5 separate regions of the Homo sapiens genome follow, and regions 2, 3, 4 and 5 are each linked to region 1. The links are contacts of gene promoters, found by promoter capture Hi-C in blood cells and fetal thymus (Javierre and others, 2016). All regions are on one chromosome and are shown on one strand. The core of a region is centred on a gene start or on the middle of the fragment in contact, and the rest is flanking DNA. Distances in the headings are between cores, read along the strand shown. Region 1 holds the start of B3GAT2 (beta-1,3-glucuronyltransferase 2). Region 2 overlaps FAM135A (family with sequence similarity 135 member A). Region 3 overlaps FAM135A (family with sequence similarity 135 member A). Region 4 overlaps FAM135A (family with sequence similarity 135 member A). Region 5 holds the start of SMAP1 (small ArfGAP 1).

What was found. The method cuts DNA at HindIII sites, captures the fragments that hold promoters and counts their contacts. A CHiCAGO score of 5 or more calls a contact.
Region 2: a contact is called between a fragment that was not itself captured here and the fragment with the promoter of B3GAT2 in region 1, in 3 of 17 cell types (erythroblasts, megakaryocytes and fetal thymus). The highest score is 5.6, in erythroblasts.
Region 3: a fragment that was not itself captured here is called in contact with the fragment with the promoter of B3GAT2 in region 1 in 2 of 17 cell types (fetal thymus and naive CD8 T cells); the score reaches 5.7 in fetal thymus.
Region 4: a contact is called between a fragment that was not itself captured here and the fragment with the promoter of B3GAT2 in region 1, in 1 of 17 cell types (naive CD4 T cells). The highest score is 5.0, in naive CD4 T cells.
Region 5: a contact is called between the fragment with the promoter of SMAP1 here and the fragment with the promoter of B3GAT2 in region 1, in 7 of 17 cell types (fetal thymus, activated CD4 T cells, naive CD8 T cells and 4 more). The highest score is 7.9, in fetal thymus.

The regions. Positions count from the first base shown.
Region 1 is chr6:70,955,611-70,958,310 of GRCh38, forward strand. B3GAT2 (beta-1,3-glucuronyltransferase 2) reads right to left here and starts at 1,450. Exons shown (of 4, transcript NM_080742.3): 1 at 229-1,450. The coding sequence starts at 819. It overlaps LOC124901229, which reads left to right and starts at 818. Exons shown (of 2, transcript XM_047419611.1): 1 at 818-918; 2 at 1,022-2,700. The coding sequence starts at 818. The coding sequence ends at 1,748. RefSeq lists silencers at 42-181, 652-781 and an enhancer at 710-1,225. The HindIII fragment of the contact is 6,068 bases long and covers 1-2,700 here.
Region 2 is chr6:70,543,178-70,545,877 of GRCh38, forward strand. The region is part of intron 20 of FAM135A (family with sequence similarity 135 member A); the gene reads left to right. Among named protein-coding and RNA genes, the nearest start is that of SDHAF4, 22 kb to the right of the region's middle. The HindIII fragment of the contact is 4,082 bases long and covers 1-2,700 here.
Region 3 is chr6:70,491,254-70,493,953 of GRCh38, forward strand. All of the region lies in intron 11 of FAM135A (family with sequence similarity 135 member A), which reads left to right. Among named protein-coding and RNA genes, the nearest start is that of SDHAF4, 74 kb to the right of the region's middle. The HindIII fragment of the contact is 1,126 bases long and covers 764-1,889 here.
Region 4 is chr6:70,463,506-70,466,205 of GRCh38, forward strand. The region is part of intron 5 of FAM135A (family with sequence similarity 135 member A); the gene reads left to right. Among named protein-coding and RNA genes, the nearest start is that of FAM135A-AS1, 51 kb to the left of the region's middle. The HindIII fragment of the contact is 3,869 bases long and covers 1-2,700 here.
Region 5 is chr6:70,666,576-70,669,290 of GRCh38, forward strand. It overlaps SMAP1 (small ArfGAP 1), which reads left to right and starts at 1,308. Exons shown (of 11, transcript NM_001044305.3): 1 at 1,308-1,566. The coding sequence starts at 1,449. RefSeq lists silencers at 1,090-1,489, 1,640-1,869, 1,990-2,049. The HindIII fragment of the contact is 2,958 bases long and covers 1-1,515 here.

The DNA.
Region 1 (2,700 bases), core at 200-2,699:
CCCCTTAAGCCACAGTGATCCTCTCACACACAGCCCCTCCACCCCCACGGCCAGCGGAGGCTGCGGAGTGCCAGCAAGGAGCGGCTCCACTCGGTGCCCCGAATGCGCGCACGGAGAACTGAGAACTCAAAAGTGCACCCGGAGTGCAAGGGGCGTGTGACTGCAGCCCGGCCGGCCCGGAGGCCCACTCCCGCCCTCGCCCACCCAGCGGGGCAGGCTGGCCTTTACCTCCTGGAAGAGCTCCAGACTATAGGTGTTGTCGTCGTCAGCGAAGAAGAGCACGCCGGGCTGCGCGCGCTGGTGCTGGTGCCTCTGGCGCAGCCAGGCGAGGCCCGCGTTGCGCTGCTCAGTGGCGCGCGGCAGCCCGGGCCGCTTGTAGCGCCGCGGCGTGGGCACGTGCAGGTGAGTGCTGGGCAGCCCGGCCCGCGCCAGGAAGCGGCTCACCAGCTCGCTGCGCGCCGCCGCGTCCTCCACCAGGATCCAGTGCAGCTGCGCCACCTGGCGGAACGTGTTGGCCAGGCGGGTCAGCTCCGCTTTCTGCACCGGGCGGCTGTAGGTGGGCGTGATGGCATAGATGGTGGGCAGCTGCGGCTCCGGCTGTGGCTGCGGCCGAGACTGGTTGCGCTTTTGGGTCCCGTGAGCCGGGCCGCCCCTGCGGAGCGGGAGTCGGGCGCCCCCGCGGCCCACCGCGTAGGGAGAGAAGTAGGGGCGCGGGGTGAGCGGGGGCACTGGCCTGCGCGTGTCCACGTCGAGCATGATGATGACAATTAGGATCCAGGGCAGGAGGATAAAGAAGCGGGTGAAAAGCGCGGACTTCATGGTGCACGCTCCCTGGCCTCTCGGACACCCCAGAGAGGGGCGAGCCGAGGGACCCCAGTGCGCAGCTTGGACAGCGGCGGCGCCAGCACTTAGGGAGTGGTGATGGGTGCGCTGTCCATGGGGCCGAGGGCGCTGCAGAGACCTGGAGCCGCGGGGCTCACTACCTGGGCGTGGAGGAGCGGCAGGTTCGCGCAAGCTAGAGCGACAAGGGGTGCAGGCGGGCGGGCAGGGGCTGCCCCCGACTCCAGGTGAGCTGGCGGGAAGCGGGACTCGGTCCAGCCGCGCGCCGCCGGTCCCGGAGTTGTGCCGAGTGCGGGAAAGGCGCTGATCCCCACCGCGCTCTTTCTGAAGAGTGGAAGCCGAGAAGCGGCACCCGGTGCGCCTCGCCGCTCCAGTCCGGCGGTGCTGCGGGCACAAGGGCTCCAGCCGCGGGCCCCCAGGACGCTCTCTGGGACGCCTTCGAGGGCGGGCGGCGGCGCTGGGGGCTTTCCTTCCTCACATTCCCGCCGGGGTGGCGAGGAGCGGGTGGAGACGCTGGGGGTTGTGTCCCGGCTGTGTTCGCGCGCCGCAGCGGAAGCCTGCTCTCAGTCCCTTGCTCTTGTCTTCTCAGAACCTCTCCGGATCCAGCAGCAAGATCCCAAAGCAAGGAAAGAAAGAAAAAGCGAGGGGGCGGGGGCGCTGCAGAATCCAGCGTCCTCCCAAGTCCTCCTGTGGGAAGACAGCAGCGCTGCTACTGGTGGAGAGGGGCTGCGAGAGGGAGGCGCGGAGGGACCCCTTGGCTCTCCGCCGGGTCTGGCGCTAACGGCCCCGCGAGCAAGCTCGGGAGGCGGCCGCTGCACCGCGGGTGGAGGAGCGGGAGGAGCGTCCCCGCGGGGCTGCACGACCTCCTGGAGGGGGTGATGCTCGTTCACCTCTCTTCAGCTTTGTGAAATACCGCAAGGTCTTTGGAGATGAGCCAGGAAAATCCATTCACGTGCGGAAATTTGCCGGGCTACGCGCGTTGCTGCTGATGCCTAGGGTTCGGAGTGAAAGGAGGGGAGAAAGCGAAGGGATTCCTCCTCCTGCTCCCAGCTGCTGCGTTGATGTGCTGGGGTGTATCGAACAGCGGCAACAAAAAGCGCTTTCACTGCAAGGCAGACATCAATAGGAGCCCACGGAGATGGAGGGGTGCTGCACATAGGTGTTTGGCATGTGAGACAGTCCATAAGAAAGAATCAATTCGGAGGGCTGCTGCCTGACTGCAGTTTGATCATGGCGGGTGGGGGCGGGTGGAATTCCTAAAACTCCAGCCGAGCATGTTTAACTTATTTTTCTTCAGTAATTTGGAGTCACGGTCCCTCCCAGTTCTTCGCTGTCACCGGAATTACTCCGTTTGGCTCTCCCAAGGCTCCTGTCAAGAAGGCCTAAGAAGTAGAATGGCCTTCATTTTCAGGATAAGGAAGCTGAGGTTCAGGGTTTAAAATGATTTCTCTGAGGTCAGTGGCAAGTGGCATATGGAAATAGAACGTGGGTCTCCTGCGTGTGTCTATAGCTAGTGGCGTCCTCACTGCATGGCCTGCAGAAATCCCACCCAACACAGCCGGGCCGGTTTGGCCTTCCTACATATAAAGATGGTGCGATTGAAATCAAACAGAGTGTACCATGACGAATAGAACCATGATAGGGTCTGGAAGACCCCAAGTAAACAGTTGGCACTTAGTTTAGACACTTTTTGCTGTCTAGCTGGCCTACTAGCTGAGTGCCTGACCTTCTGTAACTTACCAGGAAGAAGGGCTGTGCTTCCCAGGCAGGTCCCAGGGAAGTGCTTGCAAAGCAGAAGGAAAGCTCCAGACTGTTCTGCCCTAGCCTATGATAAATAATTTCTGAGCCCATCTTGTCTGG
Region 2 (2,700 bases), core at 90-2,589, 410 kb before region 1:
AATCTAGCCCATATATTCAGCGACTGGTAGTTCCAAGTCTGAAGTTACTTGAATTTGTGAACTTAAGCCCTGGCCATTTAAACCTACATCTGTTCTTATCCTCATTCCTATCACCCATGTCTTCCATTCTACTCTTGAAATATTTGATATTAATAGATTTAGTTATTGAAAATACCACTGCTTTTGAGTCCTGTTTTAGCTTTTTCAGGATTCTGCCTTAAATGTTGTTCTTAATATGAGAAAGAGATTTGGGAATGATTATTACATGTACTGTCTACTATTAGAATCAGTGAAAGGAAAATTCTCTTATAGATTGGGTTTTATGATTTTGTTTGTAATGATACAGAGCATCAATGGTAAGTTTCTTACAGTATACAGAAATATATACTTGATTGATCAAATTACAAAATATTCCTACAAAATGAAACATGGCATATGCTTCTTATGTGAGAAAAACAATATTAGCTAGAACCGTTGTGTGGAGCTATGGAGTTCATACCCTTTGCTGACAGGTTAGGAAATACGTGAAAGGCAAAGCTGAACATAAGTGTTCCTGAGGTCTATGTCTTTATACAGCATTATACAAAGTAACATTTAATTAGCAATAATAATAGCAACATAAGAATATCTAAACTGTAAAGAAAATATAACTGTAAAGATTAGTTCAATTTTTTTCTTTTAAGTTATTAATTTATTATTTGCCTTATAGTGCGTGATCTGGTTGTACTAGTCTAAAACTGTTAAGAACCAAACTCTGACATCACACATAGGTATTAGTTATAGTTCAAACACTGACTAGGCTACCTAATTTAAATAAACTCGTTTCCTTATTGGTCAATGAGAATAGTAGTATCTCATAAGATTATTAAAAGGATTAAATGAGATAATATGTGTAAAGTGATTCTGTAGAGTTCAAAACTTAGTAAATGGTAAAAAAAAAAAAATGAATAAATGACTTAAATAAGCTAGGTGCGGAAATATCATAAGCTAGGTGCGGTAGCTCACACCTGTAATCTCTCCAGTTTGGGAGGCTGAGGCAGGTGAATTGCTTGGGCTTAGGAGTTTAAGGCCAGCCTGGACACTGGGCATGGTGGCTCACGCCTGTAATCCCAGCACTTTGGGAGGCTGAGGCAGGCAGATCACCTAAGGTTGGGAGTTCGAGACCATCCTGACCAACCCCATCTCTACTAAAAATACAAAATTAGCCAGGCATGGTGGTGTATGCCTGTAATCCCAGCTACTCGGGAGGCTGAGGCAGGAGAATCGCTTGAACCTGGGAGGCGGAGGTTGCAGTGAACCGAGATCTCGCCATTGCACTCCAGCCTGGGCAACAAGAGCAAAACTCCATCCCAAAAAAAAGAAGACCAGCCTGGGCAACATGGTGAAACCTCATCTCTACAAAAAAATACAAAAATTAGCTAGGCATGGTCATGTGTACCTGTAATCCCAGCCACTCCAGAGGCTGAGGCACAAGAATTGCTTGAACCAGGGATGTGGAGGCTGCAGTGACCTGAGGTTGTGCCACTACACTCCAGCGGGGGATAGAGCCAGACTTTGTCTCAAAAACTTAAAAAAAAATAAAGCCCACTAGCGCTAGGCACAGTGGCTCACGCCTGTAATCCCCGTACTTTGGGAGGCTGAGGCAGGTGGATCACCTGAGGAAAGGAGTTCGAGACCAGCCTGGCCAACATGGTGAAACCCCATCTCTACTAAAAATATAAAAATTAGCCAGGCGTGGTGGCGGGTGCCTATAATCCTAGCTACTAGGGAGGCTGAGGCAGGAGAATCATTTGAACCCAGGAGGCGTAGGATGCAGTGAGCCAAGATCGCACCATTGCACTCCAGCCTGGGCAACAAGACTGAAACTCTGTCTCAAAAAAAAAACAAACAAAAACAAACAAACAAAAAAAACCACGAGTATTATAGATTACAGAAATTGACTTTTACACAAACAATATATATCTATCTTAGGAAAATTTTTTTAACAGAACTTTTATCTAAATGCTGATATTACTAGCTATAAAAATTATTTGAATGACTTAAAATTGTTTTTATGTTTTAAGATTTCTCTTTGTACTCACGAGTTTATTAGTATATACCTGAATTGAATTAATATCCATTCTGGGAAAAAACACTAAAGAGTACTATTTTCTGGCTGGGCACGGTGGCTCATGCATGTAATCCCAGCACTTTGAGAGGCCAAGGTGAGTGGATCACCTGAGGTCAGGAGCTTGAGACCAGTCTGGCCAACATGGTGAAACCCTGTCTCTACTAAAAATACAAAAAAATTAGTCCAGTGTGGTGGCGCACACCTGTAATCCCAGCTACTCAGAAGGCTGAGGCAGGAGAATTGCTTGAACCCAGGAGTTGGAGGCCTGCAGTGAGCCGGGATCCTGCCACTATACTCCAGCCTGGGCAACAGAGCAAGACTCCATCTCAAAAAGAAAAAGAGTACCATTTTCTAGTAATTGTGACTAATGCATTGGTTAATACTAAAATACTGGAAAAATAATAATAGCTAATACACATGTAACATTTACCACGTTCTAGGTGTGATTTAAACACATACATATTAGCTTATTTAACCCTCTAGGGTAGGAATATTGTCCCCACTTTGCAGATGAGGACACTGAAGCACAGAGAGATTGAATGACTTGCCTGAGGTCACTTAGCTTTATGAAAAGCCAGTAAGCATTCGTG
Region 3 (2,700 bases), core at 77-2,576, 460 kb before region 1:
CAGCATGAAGTTAACTTACCTTTTAAAAAGTATATTATTCTTCATATAAATGAAATAGCAAAGATAATTAACTGATCAAACAGTACATTTTCTTCTGTTCACTCACTCAATTTCTGGACACATTTTTAAAACATCACTTAAACTTGTAAAATGATACTGTTTAAAAATGAAAAATTTGTTTTATTTCAGTAGATCAATTTGCTTCTCAGATCATTTTTTCAGTTCACTCTTGCAATTAAATTGAATATATTTGCCTTTCTTTTTCTGAGAAACTAAATGCTTTAACTATTTAAATGTATGTTTCACTATGCATTCACTCTTGGTCAGCTACATTAATGGAAGAAATCAGAGGTGTGAATCAAACAAAAATATGTATTTGGTTTGGATATACTTTTGGATATAAATTTGAATGAAGACTAGACCTGTTCAAAAAGGTATTCTCCTTAGAAAATTATACATACGCAGGATACATCAGTTTTGTATACTGTCCTAGAGGTTTTCTCTGCAGTTCAAGTAAGATATTTTCTTTAAAAAAGTCACTAATGTGCTTATGATAATTGCTCAAAAGAACATTAAACATTTAAAAATAATCTTAAGATGTGTGCAGTTAATATGAAATCATCTGCAGTGTTTCACTGAGCTATTAAAGAAAATTTGAATAAATATACATATGATACTCCTGTAGATAATCACTAAAAGATATCAAATTTTACTCCAGTCAATCATTTTAATGAGTCCAAACCAAAATCCCACTGGAAATTTAAGCTTGTTTTTAAAATCATTTCAAGAAATGTAAAGATGGCTAAGAAAAACTTTTTTTAAAATAATGTAATTTTTAAATAATACAAATGTAGAAAGACTTGCTCGACTGGATACTAAAATATATGTAAAATAATAAAAATGAAAGGAAATAAGGTAGGATTTCTCTAAAAGAATAAAAAGACAAGTCAGAGGAATTAAACAGCCCTAAAATAGTCACTATTATGTTTAATAACTAAGTATATGATAAAATATTAACATCAGGGTCTATAAATATTGTGGTAAAGTTAACGTCATGCCATGCTATAGCAGCAGTTCTAAGTGGACTGAAGACTTAAGTGTCCAAAGAAATTAGGAAGAAAAAAATTACATATATATGTAAATATAAACAATCTGATCTTGGGATATGAAATGACTCCCTCAGACAATTTTTAAAAAGATAAGTTTTTTAAAGACCAATAAAAACCTAAGGGACAAAATAAGACATTGATGATTTGAAATTTCTTTGTAACAAAATATACTATAAATTTGAAAGCAAAGGATAGACTGGAAGAGAATATTTGCAATATTTAAAACAGGCTAATGGTCAGTGCTCACAATATATAACATGCTCTCATGTATCAATTTTAAAACAACACCCTTGTAAAAAAAAAAAAAAAAGGATACAATGAGGCAGTGTACAAATAACAAATTCTTAGCAGAATAATTTAGCTCCTGAAATGATACTCATTCTTACTGGAAACCAGGGGAATGCAGATTCTAATAGGTTATTTTTTTTGCCTATGAAATTTGCAAGAATAAAAGTGACTACTGAGCTTCATTTTTTGTAAGAGTGTAGTGAAACTAGTATCTGCATACCCTGTTGGTGATGGTATAAATTGGCACAGTATTTTTTAACATTAGTGCATTGATGTATTTTTAAAACACTTATATATTGCACAATTATCAAATCTGCACAGCAGTTTTTATTTGATAATCTGTTCTACAAAAATACTCATAAATGTACACAAATATAAGGAATTACATCATTAATTATTATCAATTCCCATGTAGCCATTTAAAAGCATTAGGTGGATCTCTATGAAATTGTCATGAATTATTTAATTCAGAAAATATTTATTAATCCATGAAGCTTGATACTGTTTGCGTGCTGAAAACTCTTCAAGATATATTAATTGAAAAAAATAAAGAAAAATATGAATAATATGATTTCATATAGTATGTTAAAACTAAAAAGCTGTTTGTGTATTTTATTGTGTTTATGTGATTACATATGAAATATTTGAAAGGATATATATATTCCAAGCTTTTAACAGTAATACAGAAAAAAAGTGGCGTGACGAATAAGGTTTGTAAAGGGGAATTTTCTTTACATGCGTCTATATTAAATGTTTAAAAATAACATATGTATCCATGTATTGCTAATAAATTTTTTAGATATACATATTTAAATTTCAGTATGTAAATGGTTGTCATAAACTTTAACATCAACAACCTATAACATATTATAATGCGTCTTGAGACATGGTGAGATACAAATTCTCATACCTTGTATGTCTTTTTCAGGGATTAGTTTGGCAGTACGTATCCACAGCCAGAAAAAATATCTCCTCTTAGTGTATACCAAAAGCTAAACAGAGTTCATGTGAAGATTCATAATATTGTAAAAATGTTTAATAAATGCCCAATGGTAGAATAGTTAAACAAATTATGGGATACTTGTAATCTAAGTTATACAGCCTTAAAAATGATGTTTTTGGCCGGGTGCGGTGGCTCACGCCTGTAATCCCAGCACTTTGGGAAGCCGAAGCGGGCGGATCACCTGAGGTCAGGAGTTGGAGACCAGTCTGGCCAACATGGCGAAACCACATCTCTACTAAAAATACAAAAATTAGCCGGGCATGGTGGCGGGCACCTGCAATCCCAGCTACTTGGGAGGCT
Region 4 (2,700 bases), core at 139-2,638, 490 kb before region 1:
CACCTCTGCCTCCCAAAGCGCTAGGATTACAGGTATGAGCCACCACTCCTGGCCCATAGCATTTTCTATGTACCTCTTTTAGCTTATGTTGTTATAATTTTTTCTCAGAAATGGGATTCTACTAAAACAAACATCAATCACCATTAAAGAACAGTGCTTTAAAAAAAAATGAGGAAAAGTTAAACATATAGCTAGAGACATTTCATATTATGTCACTAATCCTTTACTGTTATCAGTAATTGAATAATCTCAACAGCCATAAATGGAAAACTCACCATAAAGTTAGGTCCTTGAATTAAACTGCATAGATTACAAAATGGAAGTCATTTGGCAAGCCTCCATTTTGCTTTCCTCAGATTCAACAGCTTCTATCATTGCCCTTTAATTGTCTTTTTACCTGGTTTAAGAGATAGTGTTAGATTGCTATTTGCTTTGGCCTGCTGAAATAGGCAGTTAAGAGATTATCACATTGTACTGCAATTATTTATTTGAATGTTTCTATCCAAACTAGACTGGGAGCTCTGAAAGTGGGCAGAGTTCTTACTTATGTTCATGTCTTTTACTTCCCAGTAGTTGAGAGACTTAATAAATTATGGTTGAATGAATAGTCACTTGGTCACAAAGTAAATGAAAGATACCAGTGCTAACTTTTAACCAAAGGAAACGGAAATGCAGATAGTGATAGAAATAAAATATAAATTATCATGATTGAATGTAAGCATTTAGAAGCCTCTAATTATCTCAAGTCTTTAAAACTATAGATCTGAATGTTTGTGTTAGCAGATAACTGATAGGCAAAATAAAAATCAAGTCATTTGAACAAGGAAATAGGATATTAAATTAAGAAGTTAGACGAACATTCATTTATTAAATAAATACTTTATGACTGCCTACTATGTGTGAGACCTAAGTGCTCAGTCCTAAATTAAAGCAGTGAAAAAGATTAATGTGGTTTCTGACTTAATGGAGTTGTTATCATCTAGCAAATATTAGAAAACAAAGTTTCAGATTCAAGACAGTAATCTTAGCATACACGTTTAGGTCTTTTGTTTCCCAGACCCTTCAGTTTGATAATAACATTAAAGTGTAAAAAGGAATAACAGAACAATATTTCAGTTATTTATTTTTTTAAATTTCTTTCTTTCTTTCTTTCTTTTTTTTCTTTTTTTTTTTTTTTTGAGACAGTCTCACTTTGTCACTCAGGCCGAAGTGGTGCAGTGGTGTGATCTCGGCTCACTGCAACCTCCGTCTTCCCAGTTCAAGCGATTCGCCCATCTCAGACTCCCAAGTAGCTGGGATTATAGGCATGCACCACCACGCCTGGCCAATTTTTTTTTTTTTTTTTTTTTTTTTTTTTCAGTAGAGATGGGGTTTCACCATGTTGGCCAGGCTGGTCACAAACTCCTGACCTCAAGTGATCCACCTGCCTTGGCCTCCCAAAGTGCTGGGATTATAGGCATGAGCCACCACACCTGACCTAAAATTTTGTTATCTTGAATAACTGAAATTCTATACCATTGAACAGCAACTCCCCATTTTCCTACCCCCTGTCAACCCACATTCTGCTTTCTGTTTCTATGAGTTTGACTGCTTTATATACCTCATATAAGTGGAGTCATGCAGTATTTGCTTTTCTGTGACTGGCTTATTTCACTTAGCATAATGTCCTTAAGGTTTTTCCATGTTGTAGCTATGACAGGATTTTCTTTTCTAAGGCTGAATAATATTCTTTAATATGTACATACCACACTATCCATTAATTTGTAGATAGACATTTATGTTTTTTCTACCTCTTGACTATTATAAATAATGCTTCAATGAATGTGAGTGTGCAAACATCTCTTTGACCCTCTTTTATCAGTTCTTCTGGATAAATACCTAGAAGTGAGATGCTGGATTATATAGTAGTTCTATTTTTATTATTTTTATTTTTTGAGACAGGGTCTCGTTCTGTCATCCAGGCTGGAGTGCAGGGGTGCAATCAAGGCTCACTGCCCTCGACCTCTTGAGCTTAAGTAGTCCTCCTACCTCAGCCCCATGAGTCACATATGTTTTGTACATATGGAGCCTAACTTTGTTGCCCAGGCTAATCTTGAACTCCTGGACTCAACTGTTCCTCCTGCCTCGGCCTCCTAAAGTGCTAAGATAACAGGCGTGAGCCACACACTGTGTGTGGCCAGTCGTTCTATTTTTAATTTTTTGAGGAACCCCCATAGTATTTTGCACAGCAGCTATACTGTTTCACGTTTTCACCAACAGTACACAAGAGTTTCAGTTTCTCCACATCCATAAGTGCTGATCATGTTCATAATACTAACATGAAGTAAGAAATAAATGAGACAAGGTCCTTGCCTTCGAGAAATCTCCATTTCTTCCTCCTGAAAGGCTCTTCCCTTTTATCTTCATTTGACTAACTCTTTTTCATGGTGTTTCAACTCAAATGCTATGTTGTCAACAAAGCCTCTCCTGGTTTCACAGCCTAAGTTCACCCCCATATTGTAAGATGTCATAGCACTCTGTCTTCTGTACACTTAGTGTAGATGTAATTTACAGAATTAGGTGAGGTCAGGGAAAATGGTTGGTTTTTTTGTTCAGTCCACTTAGCTGAGAAAATCCATGGCACAAAGCAGCTATATAGTGAATGTGTAACTTTGCATTATGAAATATATTGCACATTTTTTGACGATTACATAACACAGT
Region 5 (2,715 bases), core at 58-2,557, 290 kb before region 1:
AATGTTTTTTTCTGTTCATTGGAACTCACCAATATCTCCCTAGTAGTTATTTGTCAGAGCTATGTAGTATAAGCTCTAATTTGTTTAATTACTGAGCATCTTCATTGCCATATCCATTCAATTTAATTCCAGAAACATTTTTGAGCCCCTGTGCCAAGAACAGGGCTAGGTAGCAATGAGGGTCACTTTTATGCAGGGACAGGGGCTAGAAATTGGCCTTACTAAGAAGTGTAAGACCGACTCTTGCTCATTGCCTTTCTTAGCATCTGCTTCATCGCAGGCAAGGACTGTGTTTATTTGGCTTGCATAAGCCCCATATTAGAACTTCCTCATAATATACAACATGCCAAATCATCGAAACTGCGTCACCCGGAGTTCAAACTTCATGAGCCTGGATTAGGGTCTGGGTTCCAATGAAAAGTGTTTTCTTTAGTTCTCTTTCTCTTGCATTAAGGATCACTATTTACACAGCTTCTTGTTAAAGTATCACCGCCTAGTACTTGGGTTCCTGGTCACACTTTCCCCCTTATGGAAGGGCTTACTGCCAGGTCTTTCAGACTCTGGAGCCAGACTGCTTTGGATTTAAATCTCAACTCCTCCACTAGTAGTTCTGTAATCTGGTCAGGTTACTTAACTCCTCTATGCCTCACTTTCCTCCCCTGTGTAATGAGGATAACAATATCATAAGGTTGGGGAAAGGGTTAAATGAGCTAACAGTTCGTTTAACAGAGTAATCACTCAATGAAATGTTATCCCCTAATACATGTCACTACTAGATTATTTCTCGCCCTTAAAATGTAAGAGACCGTTTTTCCTCTTTTCTTCCATCCGTGTCTCCAGCTTCTAAACTGCAGGCGAATAAACCTCGAATGAGTAAATGAACCCACCCAGTCGCTAGTTATTTCTGCATTTCCAATGTTGTGCCAGCAAGAGCAAAGGCAAATGGGCAAGTCAAAGTAGGCTTCTTGTAAAAGGTCTTCCATTACTGGGTTTTACTAGAGGCCCTTGCGGACCATCACATCTCAAAAGGGGGGAAAGCTCGTATGAGGCAGTGCCAGCTACCTTTCGGGAATCACCTTGGGCAGAAGGCCTTTTTGCAAAAAGACTCGGCAGCCCGGGCCCCGTAGGTTCGGCGCATGCGCAGCGCGCTCGGCGCCCGGGTTCCTTCCTCCGCGCCACCCGGAAGCCTCGGCGCGACCCAGTCCCCCTCCCCCTCCCCTCGCCGGCTAGGGTGGTGCGTGCCGGCAGGCCGGTCAAGGAGGCGGGACACGTCGGCGCTACCACCGCCACCGCCGCCGCCGCCCCTCCTCCCGTTCCAGCTGCCGCTGCCGCTTCCTGGGCTGAGTCCGCCCGCGGTCCCGGCGGCGCCAGGTGCGTTCACTCTGCCCGGCTCCAGCCAGCGTCCGCCGCCGCCGTAGCTGCCCCAGGCTCCCCGCCCCGCTGCCGAGATGGCGACGCGCTCCTGTCGGGAGAAGGCTCAGAAGCTGAACGAGCAGCACCAGCTCATCCTATCCAAGCTTCTGAGGGAGGAGGACAACAAGTACTGCGCCGACTGCGAGGCCAAAGGTAGCTTGGACGTCGTCGCTGCCCACGGTCGGGGCCTCTTGCGACCGGTGACCTTCCCGCCGCTGCGGCGCTCGGGGCCCGAGCGGACGCCTCGGCTTCGCTGGCCGGCTCCTGCCCTGACTGGAGGGCGGGTGGCTGAGCGGGCGGGCGCGGGGCTCCTGTCGACCCTCAAGTCCGCCAGAGGCGGCGGCGAGGTCAGGCCCGCAGGCCCTGTCAGTGGCCCCAGCCTCCCCTCCTCCCAGACACGGGTTTGAGCAGGTGCCAGGGTAGCGATGCTCGGACCCTCCACAGGGCTGGGGGTAGGAGCGAGGCTGGGAGCGCGGAACCGGGCACGGGTCTGGGCAGAGCTTAGGGTTAGAGAGTTGCCCTCCTAGCTCTGCTCATAGCTATCTCTGTGGGTGGGGCCGCGCTTAGGTCTGGATCCCCTCCTCTACCCTCCGGTGTGACCACGTCCTCCCACTCCGGGCTCGGATTCTTGGTCTCCTAGATGGAGCCCTACCTGCCTGCCCACCTGACAGCTTTTGTACAAGGCTTTTATCTCTGCTTCCTGAAAAAGAGTATGGTGGTCTTTTTCGGTGGGTTTGAGTTTTACGGAATAAATTAATTGGAGAAAGGTCTTTATTAGTAGTAGTATTGTTTTTTAGTCTGGTTATTAGCCAGAATGAAGAGGAATTTCATTACATGAGTCTCTTGGAGGACGGTGGGTTTGTATTTCTGAAGATTTTAGTAATTAGGTTTTCTCTGACCAGCTAGTTTGGGAGAATATGTGGACACTGATTTGTGTACCTCATAAATGCTGAAGGTTCATTTTAAAGATCTAGAGATGGAAAAAACCTAATTTTAGTTTTTTCGGTTGGAGGGCTTCTGCCTCAGCCTTTGAAACAGATATACTATTTTTAGCTGCTATGTTTTGTGTTTGGAGATCTGATTTATGTTTAATGTCTTGTAAGTAATCTCAAGGGAAATATTTCTTTTTTTTTTAAAGAAATGTCTTGTGTAGTTAAGAAAAGATCGTGTATATTTTTAATTGGTTTATTTCGTTATTGGGTGAGAAATAGGGTAGTTCTCTAAAGCAGGAGACAGTCTCTTTGGGGAATGTCCTTTAAGATTTCTGTGTTATTTGACTTAGACTTTTCCTGAAGCTTTACT